Regions from separate parts of the Homo sapiens genome. Here region 2 is linked to region 1. Evidence: promoter capture Hi-C in 16 types of primary human blood cells and fetal thymus (Javierre and others, 2016). All regions are on one chromosome and are shown on one strand. The core of a region is centred on a gene start or on the middle of the fragment in contact, and the rest is flanking DNA. Distances in the headings are between cores, read along the strand shown.

Evidence for each region. The method cuts DNA at HindIII sites, captures the fragments that hold promoters and counts their contacts. A CHiCAGO score of 5 or more calls a contact.
Region 2: a contact is called between the fragment with the promoter of AP3B2 here and the fragment with the promoter of RAMAC in region 1, in 15 of 17 cell types (fetal thymus, monocytes, total CD8 T cells and 12 more). The highest score is 15.6, in fetal thymus.

The regions. Positions count from the first base shown.
Region 1 is chr15:82,983,679-82,990,146 of GRCh38, forward strand. It overlaps RAMAC (RNA guanine-7 methyltransferase activating subunit), which reads left to right and starts at 2,532. Exons shown (of 4, transcript NM_031452.4): 1 at 2,532-2,691; 2 at 3,658-3,706; 3 at 5,332-5,510; 4 at 6,203-6,468. The coding sequence starts at 5,341. The coding sequence ends at 6,389. It also overlaps a transcript of HOMER2 not described here and a transcript of C15orf40 not described here. The HindIII fragment of the contact is 1,767 bases long and covers 1,948-3,714 here.
Region 2 is chr15:82,707,200-82,713,514 of GRCh38, forward strand. AP3B2 (adaptor related protein complex 3 subunit beta 2) reads right to left here and starts at 2,676. Exons shown (of 27, transcript NM_001278512.2): 1 at 2,395-2,676. The coding sequence starts at 2,507. It also overlaps the pseudogene LOC338963. RefSeq lists silencers at 2,200-2,459, 2,680-2,729. The HindIII fragment of the contact is 2,125 bases long and covers 1,150-3,274 here.

The DNA of each region.
Region 1 (6,468 bases), core at 1,282-3,781:
CCCAAGTTCAAGCAATCCTCCCTGCCTCAGCTTCCCGAGTAGCTGGGATTACAGGCGCCCCTGACCACGCCCGGCTAATTTTTTTGATTTTTTAGTAGAGACAGGATTTCACCATGTTGGTCAGGCTGGTCTTGAACTCCTGACCTCAAGTGATCCGCCTGCCTCGGCCTCTCAAAGTGCAGGGATTACAGGAGTAAGCCACCGCACCCAGCTCCTTCCCTGATTTCTACCAATCTTTTTCTCTCGTAATCCACTCAGTAACTAAGTATAGTACTATTTACTATTTAGCGCACTATAGCGCGCTAACCAATTGCACTACTGGAGCTCCAGAATAGTACTATTCAATTATTATTATTATTTTTTTTTTTTTTTGAGACGGAGTCTTGCTCTGTCACCCAGGCTGGAGTGCAGTGGCGCAATCTCTGCTCACTGCAAGCTCCGCCTCCTGGGTTCACGCCATTCTCCTGCCTCAGCCTCCCGAGTAGCTAGGACTACAGGCGCCGGCCACCACGCCCAGCTAATTTTATGTATACTTAGTAGAGACAGGGTTTCACCGTGTTAGCCAGGATGGTCTTGATCTCCTGACCTCATGATCCACCCGCCTCGACCTCCCAAAGTGCTGGGATTACAGGCGTGAGCCACCGCACCCGGCCTTTTATTCAATTATTGTAACCTTGGTTGTTACACCTCTTACCTTTACTACCCAACACCAAGACTATCCTATTCCCTCATCCATACTATCCTATATACTTTTGCTAGGTTAATGTTTCTAAAACATTACTTGGAATATTCATAGTTCTATCATTCATTCCACAAACATTTATTCAGTGCTAACGTCATGGAAAAAGCACAATGTGGGGCTGGGCTCCACGGCTCAGGCCTGTAATCCCAGCCCTTTGGGAGGCTGAGGTGGGTGGACTGCTTGAGCCCAGAGTTCGAGACCAGACTGGGCAATACTGCAAAATTCCATCTCTACAAAAAATACAAAAAATTAGCAGGGTGGTGGTGTGCACCTGTAGTCCCAGCTCTCCGGAGGCTGAGCTGAGAGGATCGCCTGAGCCCAGGAAGTCGAGGCTGCAGTATGCCATGACCACGTCACTGCACTCCAGCCTGGGCAACAGAATGAGACCCTGTGTCAAAGAAACAAACAAACAAACAAACAAAAAAAGCACAATGTTATACACTCCAGAATGTAGAAATGCATTAGATAAAGGCCTGTTTACAGTTTAATAGGGGGAAAGACTTGCAAGTAAATAATTTTAGTTCGAAGTTAGAAAGTGGTAATAACTAAATACATGAAATTCCAGAAATATGATGGACTCTCAATAGAAAGAAAAATTATTTCTAGGTAGAGATGTCACTTTCTAAAGCTTTAAATAATGGAAAGAATTTCAACATTTGGAGATGAGGGGGAGAGACAGGTATTTCATGCAAGGGACATGAGCAATCTATAAAAATGTAATAATTTATGCATGACGTACTTCACAGGGTCTGGTTTACCACTGACTGAGGGAGAATGGAAGGGGAACAGCAGAAAATAAAAAAAGTTTTGAATCCAAGTTAATAAACTTGACCTTTAATCTACAGGCAACAGAGAGCCATTGGATCAGCTATTTTGGATCACGGTGGTGCTTGAAGATGGCTACACCTATAGCAGGTATATGTAAGATAGGCTAGTAGCAGAGTGATGCTAGAGGCAGGACATCAATGAGAAAGGTACTGCACTGACACCGTGCAGGGGATGGTAATGAGAACGTTGATTAGGTGGGGGCAGTGGGTAAGAAGATGCAAGAATTACTGTAGGGGTACAATCGACAGGACTTGGCAAGTGATTGGAGCATGGAAAGGCAAGAAAGGGCATCAAATCTGACATCAAAGTTTCCAAGTTGGTTGTATTAACAAAAACGGGTGCATAGCCTGGGAAGTAATTTGGGAGGGAAGAGGCCAAGCTTTGTCGGGATATTAAGTGTTTATACATTTGCTGAACATCCCACAAGACATGGGCAAGACTCTTGGAAGTAGCTGGATACTGACGACTGAAGCTGGAGCAGAGAGGGGGTATGTTTCTGCAAAACCACATACAAAACGGACTACGGAAATCTTACTACCGAGGCTTGCCCAGGCAGGAGAGAAAGGTGTAGCATCCCTGAAGTCATCAGTCGTGTCTACTCTTCACCGCCTGCTCTCACCTCACGTTCCCCACGAAGACTCCGGGAGCAGGCGGCCGGAAGGAGCCCTTCCCTCCCTTCTCCGGTGATTCCCAGAACTTCCGTCTCTACCCGTCACCTGCTCCCAATCAAAGGAGCTTAATAGACGGCGACGTTTTCGACTGCCCAGCCACCAGGCAGGCTGAAAGTGCATGGAGGGCATCATCCACCTTTAGACAGCTACTTGCCCACACCTCATCGAGCTCTGGGCGTTGTGCCAGCATTTGAAGAAGCGATCTGTTGCAAAGCGATCCACACGGAGAGCCTTAGTTATCGCGAGACTTGACAGGCACCCTCAACTTTAGCCCGCCGGAAGCGGAAGTCAGGTGGTTGTCGGATTTTAGAGGAAGGCGCTCGGTTACATTGGAGAACTGGAGTGGTCTGGAGTTCCACGGTGTAGTGGACCAGAGGCCACCTCTCCTGGGCTTCTCAGTGTCTCGCCGGCGGGGTTCGGCCTGAGCTGGATTGACATAGCCCTTGGCGGGTGAGTCGCCCCGGACGCCCGGGAGGAGGGAGCGGGGCGGCCGAGCTGGGTGGCCAGCGAGGTGTCCTCCCCCTGTGCGGTGATCTGTACTCTTTGCTAGACCGAAGCCCGTTTACTTCTCACGGCCCATAATTTCCCTCACTTCTGGAGGTATAAGGTGCTTCGGAAGGGAGCAAATCTGCCAGAACCTTGGTAAGCAAGCTGTGATGTGCCTTGAGGACGGACTGGAAAACGCAGTTGTTTTCAGTCTGCATCTTCGTCTGTTCCCCGGGCTCACCTCCCAGGGCAGCGAAACCCCATTCTGGTTGGTTATTTCCAGGGTTAGTCGCCCGCAGCCAAAGTTCTTTGTGGTTTTATTTGTGGTGAATAAATTAGCAGTATTCAAGTACAAATCTGAAAGGCTTACCCTAAAAGAACATACATACTTTATGAAGTTTGTATTCATACTTGAACTATTTTGCTTTTGAAGGCCCAGAGGACAAATCTTGTAGCTTCTTGCTCTTGAGAACCAGTTCCCTCTTTGGAATATTAGCTTTGGAAGTCTTTAGAGCGTTTTTTTGGTTTGTTTTTTGTTTTTTTTTTGAGACGGAGTCTCGCTCTGTCGCCCAGGCTGGAGTGCAGTGGCGCGATCTCCGCCTCCCAAGTTCAAGCGATTCTCCTGCCTCAGCCTCCCGAGTAGCTGGGACTACAGGCACATGCCACCACGCCTGGCTAATTTTTTCTATTTTTAGGAGAGACGAGGTTTCACCGTGTTAGCCAGGCTGGTCTCGATCTCTTGACTTCGTGATCTGCCCGCCTCGGCCTCCCAAAGTGTTGGGATTACAGAGGTGAGCCACCGCGCCTGGCCTTAGAGCACTTTTACTCCAATTCTTTCCTTGAATAAGACTCTTATGCGCCACCCTCCCCTACAAACACCTTTTGAGAGTTTCCTTAAATAAAGTCAAGTTTGTTTTTTTCCTCCCACAGATTTAAACAACCTAAACATTAAGCAGTACAGCTGCCTCAAACCTTTGGGGTAAGTAAAGCTTGGGTCGATTAACATTCTATTTAAATTTCGTTCTCAGTAATAATACAGTTGATATTTGTTTACATGAGTATGGGTGGGGAGTCGTGGGAGAACATATGAGAACATAAAAATGGAGTAGCACCTTTTCCTTGCCTTATGATTTTTACTGCCCATCTGGATTAGGTATGGGTCATCTTTTTAGTGATTTCTGTGATCCCACTAGAATTCTAGACATGATTTTTAATTAGCTGAATTTATTTAAAACTCATTCCTTGGATTTGAGAATTTGATATAGTTTGCCAATCCCAGACACATTGAAAGTCTGATATTTGGTATTTGATAAAGCATACTAAGAGCAATAGCCTGAAAGATAAGAGTGTCAGGCTGGGCGCGGTGGCTTATGCCTGTTATCCCAGTACTTTGGGAGGCTGAGGCAGGCAGATCACCTGAGGTCAGGAGTTCAAGATCAGCCTGGCCAACATGATGAAACCCTGTCTCTACTAAAAATACAAAAATTAGCGAGCGGGCGTGCACCTGTAATCCCAGCTATTCGGGAGGCAGAGACAGGAGAATCACTTGAATTCGAGAGGCAGAGATTGCAGTGAGCCGAGATCGCGCCATTGCACTCTAGCCTGGGCAACAAGAGTGAAACTCCGTCTCAAAAAAAAAAAAAAAAAAAGGCTGGGCGCAGTGGCTCATACCTGTAATCCCAGGACTTTGGGAGGCCAAAGCGGGCGGATTATGAGGTCAGGAGTTCAAGACCCGCCTGGCCAACAAAACCCCATCTCTACTAAAAATGCAAAAATTAGCTGGGTGTGGTGGCGCGTGCCTGTAATCCCAGCTACTTGGGAGGCTGAGGCAGGAGAATTGCTTGAACCTGGGAGGCAGAGGTTGCAGTGTGCTGAGATCGCGCCATTGCACTCCAACTCTGGGTGACAGAGCAAGACTCCGTCTGGGGGAAAAGGAAAAAGAAAAAATCTACATATTGTTTCTTGCAATGCAACAATAATTTCCGTTTAATTTTGTTGGGGTTAAAGTAGGTAGTATAAATGTTACAAATATTTGCATATGTTTGGAGGAAAGGCAGACTAATGAAGAAGTTATCACAATAGCTTCCATTGTCACATCTTTTTGTCCCAAACCTTTTATTGGAAGTTAATAAAGTAAGAAAAATAATTCGGGCCAGGCACAGTGGCTCATGCCTGTAATCCCAGCACTTTGGGAAGCCAAGGCAGGAGGATCACCGAAGCCCAAGACTTCCAGCCTAGGCAACATGGCGAGATCCCGTCTCTTCAAAAAATACGAAAATTAGCCGGGTGTGGGTGGCATGCACCTGTAGTTCCAGCAACTTGGGAGGCTGAGGTGGGAGGATTGTTTGAGCCAGGGAAGTCAAGGCTGCAGTGACCCGAGGTTGTGCCGCTGTGCTCCAGCCTGGGTGACAAAGTGAGAGACCCTGTCTCAAAAAAAAAAAAAAAATGTTGAATTCAATATCTAAAATATGACATGTCTGAAAGCACACAAAGACTTCCATGAATACCCCGCCTAAAAATTGCTTACTTCTTGGTTTTTCATTATTTGGAGAGAGTGTTAATTTTTAAATTTTTTTTAATGGAAATGTCTTTAAAATTGTACAGATTTTCAGAATGACTGACACTGCCGAAGCTGTTCCAAAGTTTGAAGAGATGTTTGCTAGTAGATTCACAGAAAATGACAAGGAGTATCAGGAATACCTGAAACGCCCTCCTGAGTCTCCTCCAATTGTTGAGGAATGGAATAGCAGAGCTGGTGGGAACCAAAGAAACAGAGGCAATCGGTGTGTATTCAAAAGAATAAATGCAGATAGTTGATCTGGCAGAGGATAGCTTTAATCTGCTAGACTGGAAGGCCAGTGAGGGCAGGGACCAGTGTTTTTGGTATGGCATACCTAGTACCTAATAACAGTACCTGGTACATCATTTCTGATAAATATTTGCTTTAATATTTTTTCAGCACCATGTATTTTTTCCTTGCTGTTCAAGTGCGTGTGTTTTTTTGTTTTTAGATGTTTTTTCTGTAGACTAATATTTTCAATGCAAATCTACTTTAAAAACCTAGAGTTTTCTACAGCTTGTTCAATTCCATAAAGAAAACATTGTTTCGATTTTACTTTAGGAAGAAGTTTACAAATGGAAGTTACTTTTACTTAATAATTCAAAATAGTCAAAGGAATAAATTACCATACCATTTTTGTACAATTGAATAGATTTCACTTTAATTTGGAACTATTCTATTGGTTATATAGTCTGCCTATGTCTCTGTAAAGTGTACCTAGTATAATACTGGAAGAATGATTTCAATCTTAGGAAAGTTTTGAATAACTGGCACTATAACATTCTATTGTGAAAAATGTTTTTTAGTCTTATTTATTGTGTATTAGAATGAGAAACCAGAAGCACTGCTATGGGTTTGTCATATGTTTTTTTTAACAAGGGAAGTTTAAAGATCTTTTTTGTTTTATTGTTGTAGGTTGCAAGACAACAGACAGTTCAGAGGCAGGGACAACAGATGGGGGTGGCCAAGTGACAATCGATCCAATCAGTGGCATGGACGATCCTGGGGTAACAACTACCCGCAACACAGACAAGAACCTTACTATCCCCAGCAATATGGACATTATGGTTACAACCAGCGGCCTCCTTACGGTTACTACTGATAGAAATGTTGGCAGCTTTTAGTAAAAGCATTTACTCTGTTACCATGAGAAAAGTTTGGGTGTCTTCTGTTGGTCATAG
Region 2 (6,315 bases), core at 1,426-3,925, 280 kb before region 1:
ACCATCCTCAATCTTCAGAAAAGGTAGAACGGACTAATGGTCTTTTAAAAACACACCTCACCAAGCTCAGCCACCAACTTAAAAAGGACTGACAATACTTTTACCACTTGCCCTTCTCAGAATTTGGGCCTGTCCTCGGAATGCTGCAGGGTACAGCCCATTCAAGCTCCTGTATAGATGCTCCTTTTTATTAGGCCCCAGTCTCATTCCAGACACCAGACCAACTTGGACTGTGCCCCAGAAAACTTGTCATCCCTACTATCTTCTGACTAGTCATACTCCTATTCACCATACTCAACTACTCATACATGCCCTGCTCTTGTTTACACTGCCGGTTTACACTGTTTCTCCAAACCATTACAGCTGATATCTCCTGGTGCTATCCCCAAACTGCCAGTCTTAACTCCCTCTTAAAGTAAATAAATAATCTTTGCTGGCAGGGCTATGCTGAACCTCCTTGGGCACTCTCTAATTGGATGTCCTGGGTCCTCCCAATTCTTAGTCCTTTAATACCTGTTTTTCTCCTTCTCTTATTCCATTTAGTTTTTCAATTCATACAAAACCGTATCCAGGCCATCACCAATAATCCTATACAACAAATGTTTCTTCTAACAACCCCACAATATCATCCCTTACCACAGAATCTGCCTTCAGCTTAATCTCTCCCACTCTAGGTTCCCACGCCACCCCAATCCCGCTCGAAGCAGCCCTTCAAGGCTATGGAGAAGCAGTATCTCTCCATACCACCCCCCGCCAAAATGTTTGCTGCCCCAACACTTCAACACTATTTTATGTTATTTTTCTTATTAATAAAAGAAGACAGGAATGTCAGGCCTCTGAGCCCAAGCTAAGCCATGATATCCCCTGTGACCTGCACGTATACATCCAGATGGCCTGAAGTAACTGAAGAGTGAAAATGGCCTGTGCCTGCCTTAACTGATGACATTATCTTGTGAAATTCCTTCTCCTGGCTCATCCTGGCTCAAAAGCTCCCCCACTGAGCACCTTGTGTCCCCCCACCGCCAGAGAACAACCCCCTTTGACTGTAATTTTCCACTACCTACCCAAATCCTGTAAAACGGTCCCACCCCATTTCCCTTCGCTGACTCTTTTTTCGGACTCAGCTGGCCTGCACCCAAGTGATTAAAAAGCTTTATTGTTCAAAGCCTGTTTGGTGGTCTCTTCACATGGACGTGCGTGAAAATCCTCATCTTCTCCCCCTGTCCCTCTAAACCCCCACCCAATATCCAATTAATCATCAGGTCTGAGGCTTCCACCTCTTCCACAGCCTCAAATCTTCTGCCTCTCCCCTGGTCTAGGCCACAATCATGCCAGGCCTGTGAACTTCAAGACCCACCTCCCTTGTCTCTTGTTCAATCTGGCCCACCTCCAATCTCTTCTCCACAATGCAGCAGCCTGACGTCCTTCTAAAATATAAATCTGATTATGTCGCCTGCTTAGAATCCTTCAGGAGTCCTCCCCACCCTCTTTTCTGGTCAGTCCAGTGGCTCACACAGATTGTGGCCTGGCTCTCAACCTTCCTGAAAGCCCTTTCCTCTGCCTGGAACATACCTCACGCTCCTGTCTTCCTTCTCTCCGGCGCCAGAGACTAGGTCCTCTCCCTGCTCCCACTGCCCCCATTACACTCGACTGTCCCTGACTGCTTCTTCATCTGTGCTCCCCTCTAGAGCATCGTGAGGACAAGAAGGGTCTCATGTTCACAGTTGTATTCCGTGACTAGTTCAGGACTCGACACAGTTGGCTTTTCATAAATGCTTGTTGCAGAATTTACGAATAAACAAATGAAGAAACAAACGAACGAATCAAAGGTGGGGGAGGGTGTGAAGGTGGAGCTGAACTACAGGGGCAATGCCAGGAGCAGGGATGTGAGGGTCAGATGGAGATGGGGACCAGAGGGAGGGGAAATGAATTTGCAGCAGGGCCAAGCTGGGAGGCTGTGCAAGTACATCCAGGGCCCGCCTTCCTGAAGAGGCCCCAGGCTCAAGCTCAAGTTCGCTGACTCAGACCCCTCCCCCACATTTTTGGGAAGCCAACCCGCCTAGCACGAAAAAGGAAGGGAACCCCTAACGCAACGCCGCAAACCGGAGAAACACCTGGAACCGGAGGGTTTCTCCTCTCGAAACTGAGCTGGCCCATCCCCCGCCAGCCCCTATCTGCCCCCCTCCGCGTCCTAGGCCGGCCCCTGGAGCCGGGGTGCCAGCGCTGCCCGCGCTGGGCCGGGGCTCCAGGCCGCAGGAGGGGGCCGGGCGGGCTTCCGGTCGGCGCGGCCGGGGCGGGGCCGGCGCTGGGGCCGGGCGCTGTCCATGGTGCCCGCGCGCCTCGCCCGGTCCCCGGCCCCAACCCTCCCGCGAGCTTCCTGGCGGGCTCCCTCACCGCTTGTAGTCGGAGGAGAAGATGCCGCCGCTCGCGGGGTCGTGGCCGTACTCGGGCTCCCCGGGGCCAGCGGAGCCGCCCTTGTCTTCGCTGTAGGCGGGGGCGGCCGACATGGGGCGGCCAGGGAGACTTCGCCGAGGAGGAGGTTGCGGGGCCGGAGGCCGGCTGGAGCGGAGGAAGGGAAGGCGGGCCGGTCCGGTCCGGGCTGGCGAAGGCGGCGGCGCGGCAGGGGTTCAGCAGAGGCTGCAGTGTGCAGCGGCGGAGGCTGCGCGCGGATTTCTCAATCAGGGCCGCGCGCTGAGGTCTTAAAGGCACCGGCGCCAGCCGAGCGGAGGGCGTGTCCGCGAGGAGGCGACAGGGGCGGTGCGTCAGGGCCTGGCCCCGCCCATCCCTAGGAAATGCCCTCTTCAGGGCGTCTTCTGCCCTTTAAAGCGACTTGGCTCGTCTCCAGATCTAAAGGTGGGCGAGTCTGCTGGACGGACGCTGGGACCGTCTTGCAGGGGATGTGGAATAGCTGCCCCCACCCCCGACCACCTGGCCTCGGCGGGACGGGCCTCTGGGGCTCCGCTCTCCCCAGACGCACGCGCGGATGCTCACCCACGCCGTGGAGGGAAAGCGGGAACTGGAAAGAAGGCTGTGCCCGCAGGCTGGGGGTTCTAGAGCGGGAAGGGGTCACCGCACCCGAGGACCGGCCTCAGATACCTAAGGACGCTCCCTTTCCCGCCCCACCTTTCCTACAAAATCTGGCTTGGCAGCAGGAAGCCGAGGAGCTTCCTGGAGGTGGCGGAATTTAAGGAATTAAGGTCAGGGAGCTCCGAGGAGCCCTTGGGGGCTTAGAGAGATGGGAAACAGGATACAGAGGACGGTGAACATCTAATTAAGCTTTGGAAAGTAGTTTAATGAATCTTTCTGAAGCCTCCACGTCCACCCAGGAGGGCCAAGGTCATGCTTAATCCGGGGACACGTCCACGTCCATTGACACCTGAAAAGGAAGAGAAGGGTCTGGTGTGACCACCAGGGCTCCTGAGTCATGTGAGCCCTCCAGTTCAGCTCCCGAGCCCGAGTGACCCCTAGGCCCAAGGAAGGAAGGCTTGGATCCGATGGAAAGTAGTGAATTGGGCTGGGGGAAGAGGTAGGATCCAGTTGGGCATCAGTTGAGGTGGCTGGAGTCTTTTAGCTGGGCATGGGGACTGGAGGAGTTCCTAAGGCCTGAGTCTTGGTCTGTAACTAGCATCCCGAAGTCTCCATGGGCAGAATTGGCGGGCCTACCTGGGAAGGAGTGGGGCCCAGAAAGGTGGAGCTTGGCTCAGTAGAAAAGTTCTATTGGGGGTAATTCTACTGGGGTAAGGTTCTATTGGGGTAATGAGAAGGTTCTGTTGGGATAACCTAGACAAGTGGGTGGGTCCGCTTGGTTCCGGTGGCTTTGTGCCTGCCAGAGAAAAGTGGATCTTGAATTTGGAGAAAACTGGCCTGGGTGGGGAGTGGGAAGAGAAGGGCCTGGATTTTGCAGTTGCGCGTTTATAAGGCGCTTTGGCTAGTCTGCTCAGGAGGTGGGATGGGTCCTGTGCAGGTAGCTGGGCCACGCTCACCGACCTGCTGGAGCTCCCGTCTATTTGCCGGGGGTCCAGGCTGGGACCTGGGACGAGCAGACACAGTGCAAAGTGCACACAGTTGCTGCGCATGGAGTGATAGGATGGTGGGTCCGCGTCCGTCGCTTCGCTCACTCTGCGCAGCACGCGCCAGCAGGAGCGCAGCAGCGGGCGCTGCCCCTGTTTGGATACGATGCCTTTCCAGGAGCCCAGAAACTTCCCAGGAGCCCACAGCCTCCTGAGTTCTTGCCTGCGGGGATCGCCAGAGGGGTGCGGATCAGAGCCAGGCTTAGGTCCTATGCCCTGTGATCCCGCACCCCCATTTCCTGAGACCTCAGGGACCCTGAGTGCCCAAACCCCATTTTCAGAGAAACGTACCCCCAGCCTGGGACTTCAGTCTTTATCCCCGAGTAGCCAGCTCACTGGTGGGGCGTGGCTTGGCTGGGCAGCCTCTCCGCAGACTTGGGCCTGTGTTTCTGCTGGAGGCACTCACCCTCAAAGTGGATGATCTCTCCATGGCCACAGTATATGCCAACGTGGGCCCCGCACCAGCGTCAGGTGGGGGGAATCAGCCTGAACAGGAAGACGTCTCCTGGCTCAGGCTCCCTGCCCTCCAACTACACAGCCTCGAAGTGTTGACCCAGGAAAGCCTCAGAGAGGAAGAACTTAATGGTGCTGACTGCCCCAGTCAGGGCCTGCATGGAGAAAGGGACCTGCCTTCCTGGCGTTTACACAGGCCTGGGATAGGGAGGAGGTGGGTCCTTCCAATGACCATAGGTCGGATGGTCTGCCCAGGGCTCAGGGAGACCTGTCTTGGGCTTGGGCCCAAGGCAGAATGTCTTCACTGCCACACACTTGCCTCCTTGTGCTTAAGGGACTCCAGAGGTCCAGATATCACAGATACATCCTGCCTCGAGCCCCTACTGAGAACCCTTCAGTTCCAGCAAATGGTGCCTCCTCCCCATCCAACTGTCTTCTCATCTCAAAGTCCAGCCATTCCATTCTCTCCTCCTCCCCCCTGCGCTAGGATCCCCTTCCCCAACCAGCTCCCATCTTGCCACTGCTCCTGAAGGCAACACCAGGGACTGGGTGGGTGTCAGCTGGTACCTGAGTTGAGCAGAAGACCTGAAAAAATCGGGAAACCTGGATGAGATTTGGACCTAGGACAAGCATCTCCTCCCAAGTCTGTGTGGAGAAGGACCTCTCCAGAAACCTCTGTTGAGCAGCTGCTCATTTGATCCTTAATACAATCACAAGATAGGAACAATGTCCCCATTTTCAGGATAAGGAAACAGGTTTACAGAGGCTATGTATCACTGGAGTGCACGCAGCTAATGTATTCCTGCATGTTTCTGTGCCCTGTGCCCTTTGTACTAAAATCAGTCACCTCTCTTAGCTCTTCTTCCTCCATAAGGAAGTGAGAAACCTGCTTAGTTCAGGCTTCTCCCATCTCTACTGGAAACAGAAGGCTTTTGGGACTTGGGAGGATGGCCCCATTGCCTGCACTGTGCCTGATGTTTGATCTAAGAGCCTGGGAAAGTGGGTGAAGGTAAGACCTGTGGGCATGGAGCTCTCCAGGGGTGTTAGAGGAGCTGGGAGCAGGAAGTAACACACTACCGCCAGGTGTCTGGGCATCTTTGTTGGAAGGAAGCAGAATTGGCTCCAGCAGATTTGACTGGGGTGGGAAAGACCCATATGCAAATGAAGAGCCAGGCTGCCCAGGCCCACCATGCAGAATGCCAGCTACTGTGTGGCTCACTGTGTCTCTCCCATCCCTGATCCTTCCTTTTTCTCCTGGCCCATTCCATAGTATCTTCTGCATTTTTTTTTTTAAGATGGAGCCTTGCTCTGTCTTCAGGCTGGAGTGCAGTGGCACGATCTCGGCTCACTGCAACCTCCGCTTCCCGGGTTCAAGTGATTTTCCTGCCTCAGCCTCCCGAGTAGCTGGGACTACAGGCACCCACCACCACGCCCGGCTAATTTTTATATCTTTAGTAGAGATGGGGTTTCACCATCTTGGCCAGGCTGGTCTCAAACTCCTGACCTTGTGATCTGCCTGTCTCGGCCTCCCAAAGTGCTGGGATTACAGGCATGAGCCACCTCACCCAGCCAAATCTTCTGCTTATTACTGGGTGAGTCTCATTTTCTCAGACTGGGAGCTATGGAAGACCCAGGTGACCAACTCATCCCAGTCTGCCTACAACTTCCCATGTCTTAAAATTGGAAATCTTGCATCTCAGGAACCCAGGAAAACCTGAATATTGGGTTCCCCTAGGATCCGGTCTCCCCCTTTCCATCTCCTGCAATCTCAGAAGGCCACAGGGAGAACCCA